Linked DNA regions of Homo sapiens: regions 2, 3, 4 and 5 are each linked to region 1. Evidence: promoter capture Hi-C in 16 types of primary human blood cells and fetal thymus (Javierre and others, 2016). All regions are on one chromosome and are shown on one strand. Each heading gives the region's core, a stretch centred on a gene start or on the middle of the fragment in contact. The rest is flanking DNA. Distances are from core to core; before and after follow the strand shown. Region 1 holds the start of RXFP2 (relaxin family peptide receptor 2). Region 2 overlaps LOC105370150 (a long non-coding RNA gene). Region 3 overlaps B3GLCT (beta 3-glucosyltransferase). Region 4 has its middle 200 kb from the start of B3GLCT. Region 5 overlaps LOC105370150 (a long non-coding RNA gene).

Region 1 (2,700 bases), core at 69-2,568:
AAGGTGAGTTCATATATTGTTTCTTCTTAGTTAATCCTTAGCTTTTCATGTAAGAGATATTAAAATATAAAATAAAAGTCATGCTAGGTGCATGGAGATATAGATTTTAAATATTTGTAGTAAAGTTTTAGTATTATTTTAAATTCAAAATAAAATTTAGATATTTTAAGCCTTTTAAAAATCTTTTGTTTGTTAGAAGTTTTAAAATAATTCCTCATAAGTATTGCATTTTATTTCAAGATTTAAAATATTCACTTGGAATTCACCTAATAAAACTGAATATTTAAAAAACCTAAAACGAATTTCTCAGAAAATAAAAATAATTTCAAATTTTAACCTTTATTCTCAGAGGTTTATCAAAATTCTTTAAGAAAAAATACAAATTAAAATAGAAACATTTTTGAATAATAATAAACCCCAGCAAATCTTGGGTGTGGTTAATAGGTTGTTTATGAATGTATAGGCTGACAACGTATCTTTTTATTTAAAAACAAGTGAAGATTTAGGTTTTATTTTTTGGTGAGCTTTACAATGAAAATGGTACTGACTTGAAACTTAAGAGTTTGACTGAAATAAAAATTTCCACAAATTAAAAACAAAAGAAAATTATCTAAGTAAATGCACTTGTATAGACTTTTAATAACTTTATTTTAGAGAGGTTTACTCTTAGAGACAGATACTGTTTTTTAGATCTGCCTGTGGCTTTGGAGTTCCCAGTTTAATTATGTTCACGCAAGATAGTTACTAATAATTACTTGAATTTTATGGGCATATTTCAACAGGTTGAAATTCCACAAAACACAATTTTAGTTTATTAATTTGTCACACTTTTCAGAACAAATGCCAAAAATGTTTTCTATGTTTTAATTGATATAGTCAACATTGTTTTTTGACATATTTTATCTACAGCTTTAATAACATACAAAGGCTTGTTTCCATGAAAAATTTGTTGCATCTAAAAATTACTAGGCTGTGTGGGACTACAAGCAATGAAAGATAATGACAAATACCAGGCAAATTTGATGTCTGTTTTTTTTTTAAACACCCCAATATATTTATTACAACTGCCATAGAACTACATAGAAATGTATTTTTTGGGAATTGCACTCATTTAAAACGAGAAAGTAGCAACCTTACCTTTGACATTGATCAGAACGATGAAATGAAGTAGAAAGAACATTGTAATCAATCTGAGGCTGAAGAGATGTTTAAAAACCAGAAAAACAATCATAGGTTTACAGCAATTGAGTTATTAGACGTATCCTCTTATACCTCAGCAGGAGTTCTGATGTAGTAAGTTCAGTGCCTCCCATGTTCTGAGCATGCTCACAGCTAGAACCTCACTGGCATGAAGGGAGATGGATTCTTGTCACTATGCAGCCTGTCTTTTTTGTTCTTTCTTTTTTGTTTCTTTTAGTTTAAATCTACAGTTGTGTTCTTGATCACTAATTCATTATGGTGTGTAAAAGAAGGTATAATAGGACTTTGGTATTATCTGATAAGAAATATTTTTTAATCACTTAAAAATTTTTTTCCTCCAAAGCATGTACAATTTGCTCTGTTTAAATCCAAACATCGAAGTTCTCAAATATGAAGGATATAGGCTTACACTGAATAGGCTATGAAACCCTTTACAATTATATTTTCATGCAATAAACAAATGTAAAAAACTACTTATTGACAGATACACAAAGAACACCCACTTCTATTCAAATGTACCTAAATGTTTTCAAATGACATATGAAAAGATAATTTAAATATATGGCATTGTGTTAAATAATTACTGTAAAACATTCATACAATATTTTCACTTCACATACTTCCCGCATAATCATATTCCTTTTTCTTGAAGTGAATAATTTTATTCTTGCTTCCAGCTCTGTATTGCACACCTATTAGAAAACACTAATTATAATTTAGTTCTTACATCCTGAAAGCAGCTTTCTCAACAGCATAGTTAGTACAAGTTAAAAGTATAAAAATTGACTTTTGGTTGTAGGATTCTGTTGATCCTAGTGTAATCATTAAGACTTCTCCAAAAAGATGTAGAATTTCCATGTCTGAGTTTATATTTTACTAACAGGGAAATATCTATCTAGAATACAGTTTGTAGTTCTGATTTGAAGAGAAGATTTTGTGACTGAACGATGCAGATTCTCTTATATGTTGTCGTTAACTGTGTCCTAACAACACTGAAAAAAACTACCTTGTGGTGACTATTATCGTCACAAATCATAAAACACGGGGTTTTCCTTGTTCTTTCTTTCATTCTAGCCTTTGAGAGAACAAGGATTCAAACAGAATGTACAATAAAAAATACTTTATTTATCACATAATGTATTTAGTTCTTTTCTCTTTTTAAGAAGTGAGTTAAGTTCTCTAAGACACCTCCCAGACATATTTATATGTGGTCTCATCTGATCTTTCAAATCAAAAGAAAAAGCAACAGAGAGAATAAAGATGAAAAGAAATACTTCAGGATCTTTTCTTACATTTCAAGCATCTTTTTTTCCCTCACTAACCTCAAGGTCTTTTTAGGTAAAAATTGCCTTATTTCACTTAAAGGAATGATTAGTTTTTCTTACGTTTTGTGTTTTGCTGTCGAGATGATGGATGCTAGTTTCTGGTACTGAAATTTTGAGCATGAGTTTTTAAGTGCAATTAAATACCATCATAAGTCTATTTGAAGTATAAATATAT
Region 2 (2,700 bases), core at 98-2,597, 270 kb after region 1:
GTGCTAAGTGCTTTAACGAACTAAACTACTTCAATCTCACAGTTCTATGACATACGTATTTTTCTAATCCTCATTTCACAGCTTCAAAACTAAAATAAAAGAAAACCTTTTTTTAAAGCTTAGGTTAAATAACTTATCCATATTTAAATCATTAGTAAATGCCAGAGCATGACTTGAACTATCTATGCCTGACCTTGAAGCTCATGTTCATAACCAAGTCATATTTCACCTTGTTTTGTTAACAAATAAGGAAGCCAAAGCTCAGAGAAATGCATGGCCTGATTAGTGTCATCTTGAAGGCTGAAGTATCAACCTCATCTTGAAGGTTGTGAACTACAAAGCATGTATCCTCTGGAGTTAGAATATTTACTCTGCATTTCTTCCATGGCTCAATTGCTTATGATAAAACAAGGTGACTCAGAGAATAGCCCCAAATGCAGAAGTTCATCTGTTACATTCACTTACATTCAACACCCTGGCCATGCCTCTTAGACCTCCAGTCTTTCCAGGATTTCTTTTCTTCAGGTTTATTTTCCTTGGCCATGTCTATTGTGTTGAAGGACATTCAGAGTCCATTCAAGGGCACATCACTTTTGACTACAGCACAGAAGAATCTTGGTGTACAAATCTCCTATTTTAAAAAAATATTTTAAAAACTCTTCTCCTGTTCAAATCATTTCTCCTTGAGAAGCAATTGTATCACCAGCCAATAAATATTGGTTGAAATAAATGAATTGAACTATTAAATCAGAATTCAGTTAAATGCATTAACAAAGAACTTCTTCTGTGTCAGGAGTGAGACATTGTTAAAAAGTTATTCTATGTACCTATTCTTCCATTATTCAAGAATAGCTGCAGTTAAACAAAAGAGATGGTGAGTGACTTAAATTACTATTTCAGCAATTTAGGATTGGATGAGCACTAAGGCCCTTTAGCTCATTCAATTGCCATAAGAGTTGTGCTCTAAGAAGAGACAGTCCCTTTTGTTTCTGTCCTTTAGAACATCTTTTCTTTCAATAAAATCTCATGTTTCCCTTTGCTTATCTTAAGAAACTAAAAATGTTCCTAGGGTCTCTTGAATACAGTATCAGAATAAGATTTATAAGAAAAACTAAGTTATATTTAAAACTATAAGGATATATGTTTATCTCTTTTCCTTCCTTTCTCTTTCCTCCTCCTGCTTTTACTACTCCTCCTTCTTTTCTATTTATCTTTCTCCTACCACCTTTCTTCCTGAAATTTATGCTTATCCTTATATTAACTACTAAATGAAGTATGGGAGTTACCCATTTGTCTTGGGTGATGGATGGGGAAAATCCAACACAGTAACACAAAATATGAATATTTTATTGTATCTAGAATGTTTAATTTATTGTATCTAGAATGTTTATTGTATCTAGAATGTTTCTGAAGGGTAAAATAGCTTCCAGCAGTGACTTAAAAGCTAATTGAGATGTTAATTAACATGTTAATTTTAAACACTTGGAAAAGAAGGAAAATTAAAAATAAAATAAAATGAAAAATAAATTAAAAATAAAATTAAAAATAAATTAAAAATAAAATTAAAAATAAAAATAGAGAAAAAATAGGAGAATAAAAAGAAAGAAAATATGAAAAGAAAAAAATCTAACCAGAAAGAGGAAACAGGATGTAAGAAGCAATGGAAAGCATGATCAATTTATGGGTAGCTATAAATAAACTCTAAGAATAATTATAAAAATGACAAATATCTGTTATAAGCTAGATAGGATTAAAATACAGAGCATCAGTAATGTGAGAAAATATCTGAGTTAAAATGGTCAGAGTTTCTTATATTGCTAAGGAGAAGGCAGAGATGTTGATTAACTGAGACTATGTCAAATAAGTGGGAATTACTAAAAGACTAGAAGTAAAATGTGGTAGAAATTAAAAAGAACGAAGAAAACTCCATCAATTCAACAGAAGTCAAAGAGGAGGAAAAGAAGCATAATAAATAAAAAGAACAAAATAAGACTGATAAAATAAATCCATGTATCCTGACAATCACTGTTATTTAATGAAACTCCTTGTAGAAGATGAAGACTCTCCAATTAGATTATTTTCAATAAAGCAATTTGCTGTTTATAAAAATTATACTGAAAATATAATGACAAAAAAAAGATTGAAAGCAATGGATTAAACACGGTGACTTCAATATACAAGTTTGCCTCGTTTTCCTACAGCACCACTTTTAAACAAGAGAGAACTTTTAGAAGTTGTAGACAGGAAAAAAGACGACAGCAATAAAATTTTGCTGACTGTAAGACAGATGAATATTAATTGATCTTACAGATTGGAAAATTTTGAAACCTAACACAGCACTGTTGAGAAATCCTAGTGAAGGCCAGAAGCAAAACGAGTCGTTTTGCAGAACTCCAGATACAGAGGAAGTAGAAGTGATACAGGAGTTAAAAAGAAATTATTTAGGCAGTTAGGGTAAGAGAGTCTTCGATAAGGCTTTCCTTGTGACAAAAAGCAGCCCCCAAATCATTTCTTTTCTAACAAAGAGCAGCCGGTAAAATCAGGCTGCAGACATAAATAAGAAAGCTGGAAGCTTGCATAGTTTAATGTGGGCAGCTCTCCCAAAAGGAAAAGGCTACCCCGGGGGCCGGGCATATTCAACATGGAAGTTCCCCCTTCCCTTTTCTTTGACACCATATGTGCAGTAAAAAAGCAGGCAAC
Region 3 (2,700 bases), core at 50-2,549, 490 kb after region 1:
TCTTGTCTCTTCTTCACAGAAGAAAATCCAAGATGAATTTCTGCTATATGTTACAGAAAAACTGACCAAAAGAAACAAGTTTCAGTAATCACTTCTGTAAAATAAGTTAATAATAAGGTTTAAAACTGATCAGTAGGAAGTGAATGAAGGGTACACAGAATGGCATATCTAATTTTTTTCTCTATATTTTTCTTCAGCTTATAGAAAAGCCAGATGCTAATGGTTTAAAAAACAGCTGGAGTTCGTAAAGTTAATTCTCTCCATAACAACACTAGTTCAGGGGATAAATAATTTTCAAATATCAACTTGAAGCATTTTATTCTTTAAGAAAAAGCATATATAGGGCAGGGTGTGGTGGCTCACGCCTGTTATCCCAGCACTTTGGGAGGCCAAGGCAGACGGATCACAAGGTCAACAGATCAAGGCCATCCTGGCCAACATGGTAAAATCTCATCTATACTAAAAATAAAAAAATAACTGGGAGTGGTGGTGCACGCCTGTAGTCACAGCTACTCGGGAGGCTGAGGCAGGGAATTGCTTGAACCCATGAGGCAGAGCTTGCAGGAGCCAAGTCACCACTGCATTCCAGCCTGGCGACAGAGCGAGACTCTGTCTCCAAAAAAAAAGAAAAAGCTATTCATGATTAAGAACCAATCATCAAGAAATTTGGTTAAGGTAGTAATCATAAAAAGTAAAACTCAAATTTACTTCACTTACTGACTGAGGAAAACCACACCCTCTTAATAAAAAGACTAAGGGCGTAAAAGTGTTCAGGTAGGAATGTCAGTAATTCACAGGTGAGTTAAACAAACGTACTGCGGTAACAACGGAAGTATGGTCCATGCACCTTCTTGTTTAGCCAGCTGATGAAGGAGGAGGACACTGGGGAGCTCCTGAGAAAACAATGATCAAAGAAGATAAGTATGAATTGACTACTCCGAAAAAAAGTAAAAAAAAAAAAAAAGAAAAGAAAAGAAAAGAAAAAAGAAAAAAAGAAAAGGCTTGGCTTAAAATGCAGCTGTTTCTAGAGACCTGACATGGTACTCTTCAAACCACTTCTTTTTCCTCATTTTCTCCAGGAGCTACTGGAAATGAAGTATTTTGGCTGAATCCATGCAACCTCTACACTCTGCACCACCCACACACCCAAATAGAGCTCAAGACCTACAAGGAGGGTCTTCCGTGACTCCGAGCCAACCTGAAATCTGTGAAGGTGACTTGAAGGGAAGAGCCTGGGGGAAGTAGTCAGGGATAACTCAGAGGCACAGAAGCAGTTTTTTATTTTATATACAACATATGGAACATGTGAAAATGAAAACCCTTTGGCTAAACTAGAGGATACAATATTTGATCTACCTCATGTGCAAAAATTACTTTACTTTTTAAAGTTCTCTAAACACATTAAAATACCCTGATAACAAAAAGTTTTGGTCGAGAAATGTAATCCTTAATTACTCAGGCAATAACAGGAATAGCATAATAATGGAATTGACAAATTTATAAGCATAGGAGGAACTAAAATTCAGAAATAAGGCACAACTGTGCTTACATAAATTATGTATACATATATAAAGAGAGATTAATATTTTTAAGGCTACGAGTGTTAGCTTTGAAGCAAAACACTATTCCCTATATTTCAAGTTGTTACAAAAGCCAAAAGTCAAAAATTTCATATCTCATATGCTTAAACCTCCTCCCCCAACAAACTTTATTATATCCTGTGTTTTATACTAGCCATAAAACTATATTCCTAGTAACCATTACAGACAAAAGAATTCAAGAACAAGTACCTAAGTATCTGAAACATTACTGCACTGATGTGGATTTCACAGCTGTCTTAAAGTTCATAGATATTTATTATTTAAGAAGAGAATAGTCTTTAATGTAAATCTTTGGAATTAAATTTCAAGTAAATCTCATTTATTTTATATAATATTCATTTCAACTTCCATGTAGAAATATGAAATGCAAAAAACAGTAATCACAGGTTAAATCAGACAAACAATGTGGTATGTTAGAAAGAGCAAACCTTAAGGCTGAATTAGCAGTTACCCAATATAAATAATTCAGGGCCTTCCTACTGTTACTTCTGAATTATGCAGTAATTTTCATTGTCTTTTTAAAATTCCAGCAAATATATATATTCATGAAGGATTACATAAGAGCAGAAAATCATGTGTAAAGAAACTAATGATGTTACTATTTGCATAAAACTTTGGAATAATTATGGGTAAATGCAAATGTGAGCTAGACAAGAAAAGAAATATAGCAAATACTTTTTAAAGTTTTACATAAAAGTAGCTAATGAGTTATTATGTATCAATTAAAATTATGATGAAAACTTTATAACAACGGAAATGTCTTTATGTTTAATAGAAAAAAACCAGACATGATTCCAAGAATAAAACAAAATCCTAGATGAACAGAGACTAGAAGAACCAGGAAGTGAAAATATTTGTGTCAAGATGATAGAACAATGAGATATATGCTTTAAAAATCCTTCAATTAAAACATAGCTAAGTTTTTTAAACATTGAAGGAAAATGAATGCACCTCAAAAATTTACTTCCAAACAAGTATTATACTTCCTAGTTATAGGATATATATATAATGTAATATCAACAGCTATTAACTGAGAAAAGGCTTCCTTTGATACCTTGACGGTAACCTCAGCAGAAAGGCTACAAAAGCACTTTCCTGG
Region 4 (2,700 bases), core at 15-2,514, 340 kb after region 1:
TTCTTACCCTTATGCCTGCGTGCCAGGTGTCTGGGTTCTCTCTCCCTGAGCGACCCTGGCGACCCTGCTTGAATGTATGCAAAAGAACACATGAATTAAGAATATTCATGAATAGTTTACAAATATTGGAGAAGTTAGGCAGAGAGAGAAATATGACTCAAATTCTATTTGTGAGAGTATACTTAACACAAAGTACCAGGAAGGCTAAAATCCAAGGTTAGTTTAAGGATAAAAAGCTGGCGTGTTCCATTAATTCTTGCAGGCCTGACAAAAGTAGTTTAGGAATTCCAGATAAATGGAACGGAAGATGACTTGCTAGAAGTGCATAGGAAGCAAAACAACTATTCACATAACGAAATAAAAACCAAACTAAAATAATAAAATCATGATTTTATATATATGGATACACAAGCAAAATCAGAGGAGAATAAAGAGCAAAGGAATGAAAACTAGAGCAAAAACAAATAAACAGGAAACCAACCCTAAATTTTCATACTCAATTTTCCCTAGCCAACAGTGTTTCCTAGGGCCCCAGAAAACCCACATAATGAATATTTTATTCCTGATACTCAATTCAACATCCCCAAGTTCACCAACGCCATCATACATCCTGTGCAATTAAGTAATTCACTTAAGGCACACGACCAATAACCACACTATCCACGTACGGCAGTAAACATAGTGTGAAGTAATGCAAGCATATATGTGACATTTGGTTCTGTGATAAATCCAGCTTCATGCTTAACTATGTTAAAAAAAGAATTGTCAAATTGCCCATGCATTTTTACAATACTTCTTACTTTAATGAAGACTAAAAGCTTTAACTATGAAAATGTTAATTAGCCAAATGCTTCCAATTCTTTATCAGGTTTTAAGGAATATTCTATAGTTTAAACTTTTCCACATCTTTCACCTCTACTTAATGGTTCCTTACTATATTGTTTCATAAATAACTTTTTCTTTCTTTTCTTTTCTTTTTTTTTTTTTTTTTAATTGAGAGATAGCCTTGCTCTGTCACCCAGGCTAGAGTGCAGTGGCACAATCTAGGCTCACTGCAACCTCTGCCTCCTGGGTTCAAGCGATTCTCCCACCTCAGCCTTCTGAGTAGCTGGGATTACAGGCACGTGCCACCACGCCCAGTTAATTTTTGTATTTTTAGTAGAGATGGGGTTTCTCAATGTTGGCTAGGCTGTCTCGAACTCCTGGCCTCAAGTGATCTGCCCACCTCGGCTTCCCAAAGTACTGGGATTACAGGCATGAGCCAACATGCCCGACCCATAAATAACCTTTTCAAGTCTGTAATTTGAACTAACTTTTAGATAACATCTGAATTAGACATCTATAGACAAGAATTATTTTGCATTGCTATGAGTTATCTACCATTTACAGAGTTTGAAAATAGCTTCAAGATATTGAAAGGTGCAGAACTCCCACAGACTCAGAATCAAATTACCCCTTGAGAGATAATGCTCTAGTTTTCCACTGAAACATAATATTTTCCTATGGTCTGGGGAAGTTAGGAAATAGATGAGGCTGCATATGTTGAAGGGTATCAGATTGCAGAGACCTTAATGCCAGTGGGATGTGGTTTTAACCTATACATACTAGCATCAAAATGATCAAAGTGGCTTGACATTACCTTGAGGAGACAGTATTCATGAAAGGAGTAATGAAGAGCCCCTGGAAAGCTGGAGGCATTTTGGAAGCTTAGCACTGATAAAGATTTGAGGCTAAAAAGGTCTGAACTAAAATTGAGGTAGTGAGACTCACAAGAAAGGATAATTATAAATATAATTATGTAAGAAGAATCAATATTGGTTGAGGGAAACAGAAACAAAAGGTAACCGTAGTTTTAAACATGATTTGAAGCTATTTCCTTTGAATTCAACGAACAATGAGTATCTGAAGTATACTAGGATTGTGCAAGGTGCTGGAATTACAACAATGAGAAAGATTTTTTTAAAAAAAATTCAAATTATACTTCTACAGAAAACCATCAGACCATAAAGAAAGACTCCAAGAAAGAAAGAAAAACAAAAGAACAAAGAATCTATAAAACAATTGATAAAGTAACAGTAGTAAGTCCTTAGTTATCAGTAATAACTTTGGATGTAAATGGATTAAATTCTCCAATCAAAAGACATAGGGTGGCAGAAAGGATTTTTTAAAAAACCTAACTATCTGCTGCCTACAAGAGGCTCATTTCACCTTTAAGTAAACACACAGATTGTAAGTGAAAGGATGGAAAAACACATTCTGTGCAAATGGAAATCAAAAGAGAGCAAAGGTAGGTATACTTACATCAGACAATATAGACTGTAAATAAAAAACTATACAAAGAGACAATGAAGGTCATTATATAACAAAAAGAAGTCAATTAATCAAGAGGATGTAACAATTATAAATACATATGCACTCAATATCAAAGCACCTAAATATATAAAGCAAATATCGAAGGATCTGAAAGGAGAAACAGAATGTAATGCAATAATAATATGGAAGTTTAGTAACCCACTTTTGACATGGACAGATTTTTCAGCAGAAAATAAGTAAGAAAATATTGGACTTTAACTATACTTTACAGCAAAAGAACCTCATGACATATACAGAATATTTCATCTAACAGCAACAGATTACATATTCTTCTCAAGTGTACATGGAATATTCTCTTGGATAGAGCATATGTTAGGCCAAAAAACA
Region 5 (2,700 bases), core at 11-2,510, 290 kb after region 1:
GGATTACAGGAGTGAGCCACTGCGCCCAGCCTTACTCCTTTATTTTCATGGCCCATATTTTATATCTTTGCCTTTGGTGCACATGCTCAACCTAGGATACTTTCTTAAATATTCTCCCTTAAACAAAACCTTCCGGAGTTTAGAATCTCACTTTACCAGACTTACCCCACCTGTGAAAGATATTTTGGTACCCCATGAAGGAAGGCAAGGTACTACCTGGTAATACTTTAAACCCTTTGTCATGCATTATTAGCCCTTTCATTCACAGGTTATAGGACTTTAGAACTGAAGGGATCCTAGGGATCACTTACAGAAGGGATTATTGAGGCTTTTCCAATGACAGAGAGAGTAAATGATTTTCCCAATGAGACAAAACAGTGCAGTGAAAACTGATGTTTCTGTAGACAGTCTTGATGCTCAATGATATCAGGAGATGATTCACAGTCCTCAAGGGCAGTTCACTTATGTTCCTGACAGTTCAGAGTTAAATCTGAATCTCATAAACCATGTATTCCATGTAACTCTTGTGTGACATCTCCCAGTTCAGAAGGATAGACATACTTCAGAGCATCACATTGTCTACCCACTCCAAGAGCAGCGAGCAAGTGCTGCATTTTGGAAAGCTTTCTTGGTTGTTTGATGTAAATTAAGGCTTCTACTTCCACTTTCTTATAGTAACCATTTACTTTCTCAGAGCAAACCTTTACCTTTTTATATGTGAATTTGCCTGTGATTATATTATTATATATTGCTATTATTATTTTAATAATAATTTAATTATTATATTATAATTGGACTGTAAAAATCATGAGGGCAATGGCTGGGATTCCTTTATGTATCTTTGTATCCTAGTGTCTAGCACATGCTTTGAACATAGCAGGTACTCAAGAAATATTGAATGAATAAATGTATGTTTGTGTCTTTTTTTTCTAGTTTAAGTGTAAAGTCTATAAGAGAGGGACTTAGTGCTTGTTAGCTTAAAGTAGGTCACTTAATGCCAAATCAGGGTTTTTAAAGAAAATTCACTAGAAAGGGGGTCAAAAATGTAAACTCCTATAGATGCAAGCAGGGAACATGAATGAGAAAAACCAGGCTGTGTGTGAGAATTACAAGCCAGGGACTCCTGGCTGGTGATGCCCCTCCCAGGCCTTGCTTGGCCACATTAGTATGCCTCAGCTCCCCTGTGTTCAGTGGTTCCTGAGCTCTTGCATTGCGCCCATGAAGAATGAGGATATGTGGGACATTGAAAGATGAGGAGGATGGAGAAGATTTTTATCGAATGATGAAAATGGCTTTCAACAGAGACAGGAACACAGTTGCTGGGGGTGCAGGGATTGTTCCCCTACCCAAAGGCCAGAAAGATCCCCCTGGTGGCCAGGTCTGGGGCCTTTTATGGACTCAGAATGGGGAGTGTGTGCTGATTGGTTTGTGAGTATGCAAATAAAGTTAAAGCAAAGGCACCACTCAAAGGTGGGCACAACAAAGTAGAAAAACCAATTAGGAACATCAGTTTTCACTGCACTGTTTTGTCTCATTGGGAAAATCCTTTACTCTCTCTGTCATTGGAAAAGCCTCAATAATCCCTCCTGTAAGTGATCCCTAGGATCCCTTCAGTTCTAAGGTTCTATAACCTGTGAATGAAAGGGCTAATAATGCATGACAAAGGGTTTAAAGTATTACCAGGTAGTACCTTGCCTTCCTTCATGGGGTACCAAAATATCTTTCAGAGGTGGGGTAAGTCTGCCTTTGGTGCACGTGCTCAACCTAGGATACTTTCTTAAATCTTCTCCCTTAAACAAAACCTTCAAATTCATTCCGGAGTTTAGATTCTCACTTTGCCAGACTTATGTATATGTAAAATAGGTGAAGGATGGGGACCAATCAGAGGAAAGCTTGCCAAACAGGAAGACAAGATCTCAATCTGGGTCCAAAGATTTAACTTGTAGGTTGGCTTTCAGTCTTTAAACTGTCTTCAGTTGGAGGTGGGGTTTCACTGAGGACCCACTTCTGTCTGCCTAGAATTTCTCTGCCTCTATCACAAGCACCTCTATCACAAGCACCATGATTAGTAAATGATACCCAGAACCAGGGAGGCAATAGAGAGTGGAGAGCAATGTGGCAAAGGAAAGAGCATAGGCCTCAACTAAATGGTCAGGATGTTACCAGGTAGAAATGGAAATCCAGCGTAACCAGATCTGATTTTTCTAGAGAGTGAAAATCTAGCTTTTGATATAAAATATCACAATATTAAAATATTGATAATTAGCTCATTTTAAAAAGAAAAACACTGTAGGCAAAACAAATCTTTCTATGGGAAGCCCAAAGGCTATAAGTTACCAGACTCCTGTTCTAAAATCCAAGGAATGTGACCAGGAAGCTCTGTAAGGGTAATTGAACCCAGTCTTCCCCATCTTTCCCGCATACCATGAGACTGCCTCTGGTACGTAGTGTCACGATCCAAATGTTGGGTCACCTGAGGGCCAGATGGGCCATACCTTTTATTCTAATCCAGGACCTACCAAGGCCAAAAAGAGATGGCACAGATGTGCCCTGCTGGCAGGCTGTGCAATTTGAGTCAGTGAATTCTCCCCATCACTCTACCCTGAGTCTTCATTTTTCATCTGAATTAGTGCAACAACCTCCACATTGGTCTTTCTGCTCCTAGGCTGACTCCTTGCCAATCTGTCCTTCACATGGCCA

Evidence for each region. The method cuts DNA at HindIII sites, captures the fragments that hold promoters and counts their contacts. A CHiCAGO score of 5 or more calls a contact.
Region 2: a contact is called between a fragment that was not itself captured here and the fragment with the promoter of RXFP2 in region 1, in 1 of 17 cell types (endothelial precursors). The highest score is 5.8, in endothelial precursors.
Region 3: a fragment that was not itself captured here is called in contact with the fragment with the promoter of RXFP2 in region 1 in 3 of 17 cell types (M2 macrophages, M1 macrophages and megakaryocytes); the score reaches 5.5 in M2 macrophages.
Region 4: a fragment that was not itself captured here is called in contact with the fragment with the promoter of RXFP2 in region 1 in 1 of 17 cell types (M2 macrophages); the score reaches 5.1 in M2 macrophages.
Region 5: a fragment that was not itself captured here is called in contact with the fragment with the promoter of RXFP2 in region 1 in 1 of 17 cell types (M2 macrophages); the score reaches 5.9 in M2 macrophages.

The regions. Positions count from the first base shown.
Region 1 is chr13:31,738,144-31,740,843 of GRCh38, reverse strand. It overlaps RXFP2 (relaxin family peptide receptor 2), which reads right to left and starts at 1,318. Exons shown (of 18, transcript NM_130806.5): 1 at 1,138-1,318. The coding sequence starts at 1,231. The HindIII fragment of the contact is 9,597 bases long and covers 1-2,700 here.
Region 2 is chr13:31,468,412-31,471,111 of GRCh38, reverse strand. LOC105370150 (a long non-coding RNA gene) reads right to left here. Exons shown (of 6, transcript XR_941830.1): 6 at 496-631. Among named protein-coding and RNA genes, the nearest start is that of RXFP2, 270 kb to the left of the region's middle. The HindIII fragment of the contact is 2,454 bases long and covers 121-2,574 here.
Region 3 is chr13:31,245,216-31,247,915 of GRCh38, reverse strand. B3GLCT (beta 3-glucosyltransferase) reads right to left here. Exons shown (of 15, transcript NM_194318.4): 5 at 817-893; 6 at 1-61. Among named protein-coding and RNA genes, the nearest start is that of B3GLCT, 47 kb to the right of the region's middle. The HindIII fragment of the contact is 2,843 bases long and covers 1-2,700 here.
Region 4 is chr13:31,400,891-31,403,590 of GRCh38, reverse strand. No RefSeq gene overlaps it. Among named protein-coding and RNA genes, the nearest start is that of B3GLCT, 200 kb to the right of the region's middle. The HindIII fragment of the contact is 888 bases long and covers 821-1,708 here.
Region 5 is chr13:31,451,400-31,454,099 of GRCh38, reverse strand. The region is part of intron 4 of LOC105370150 (a long non-coding RNA gene); the gene reads right to left. Among named protein-coding and RNA genes, the nearest start is that of B3GLCT, 250 kb to the right of the region's middle. The HindIII fragment of the contact is 1,269 bases long and covers 626-1,894 here.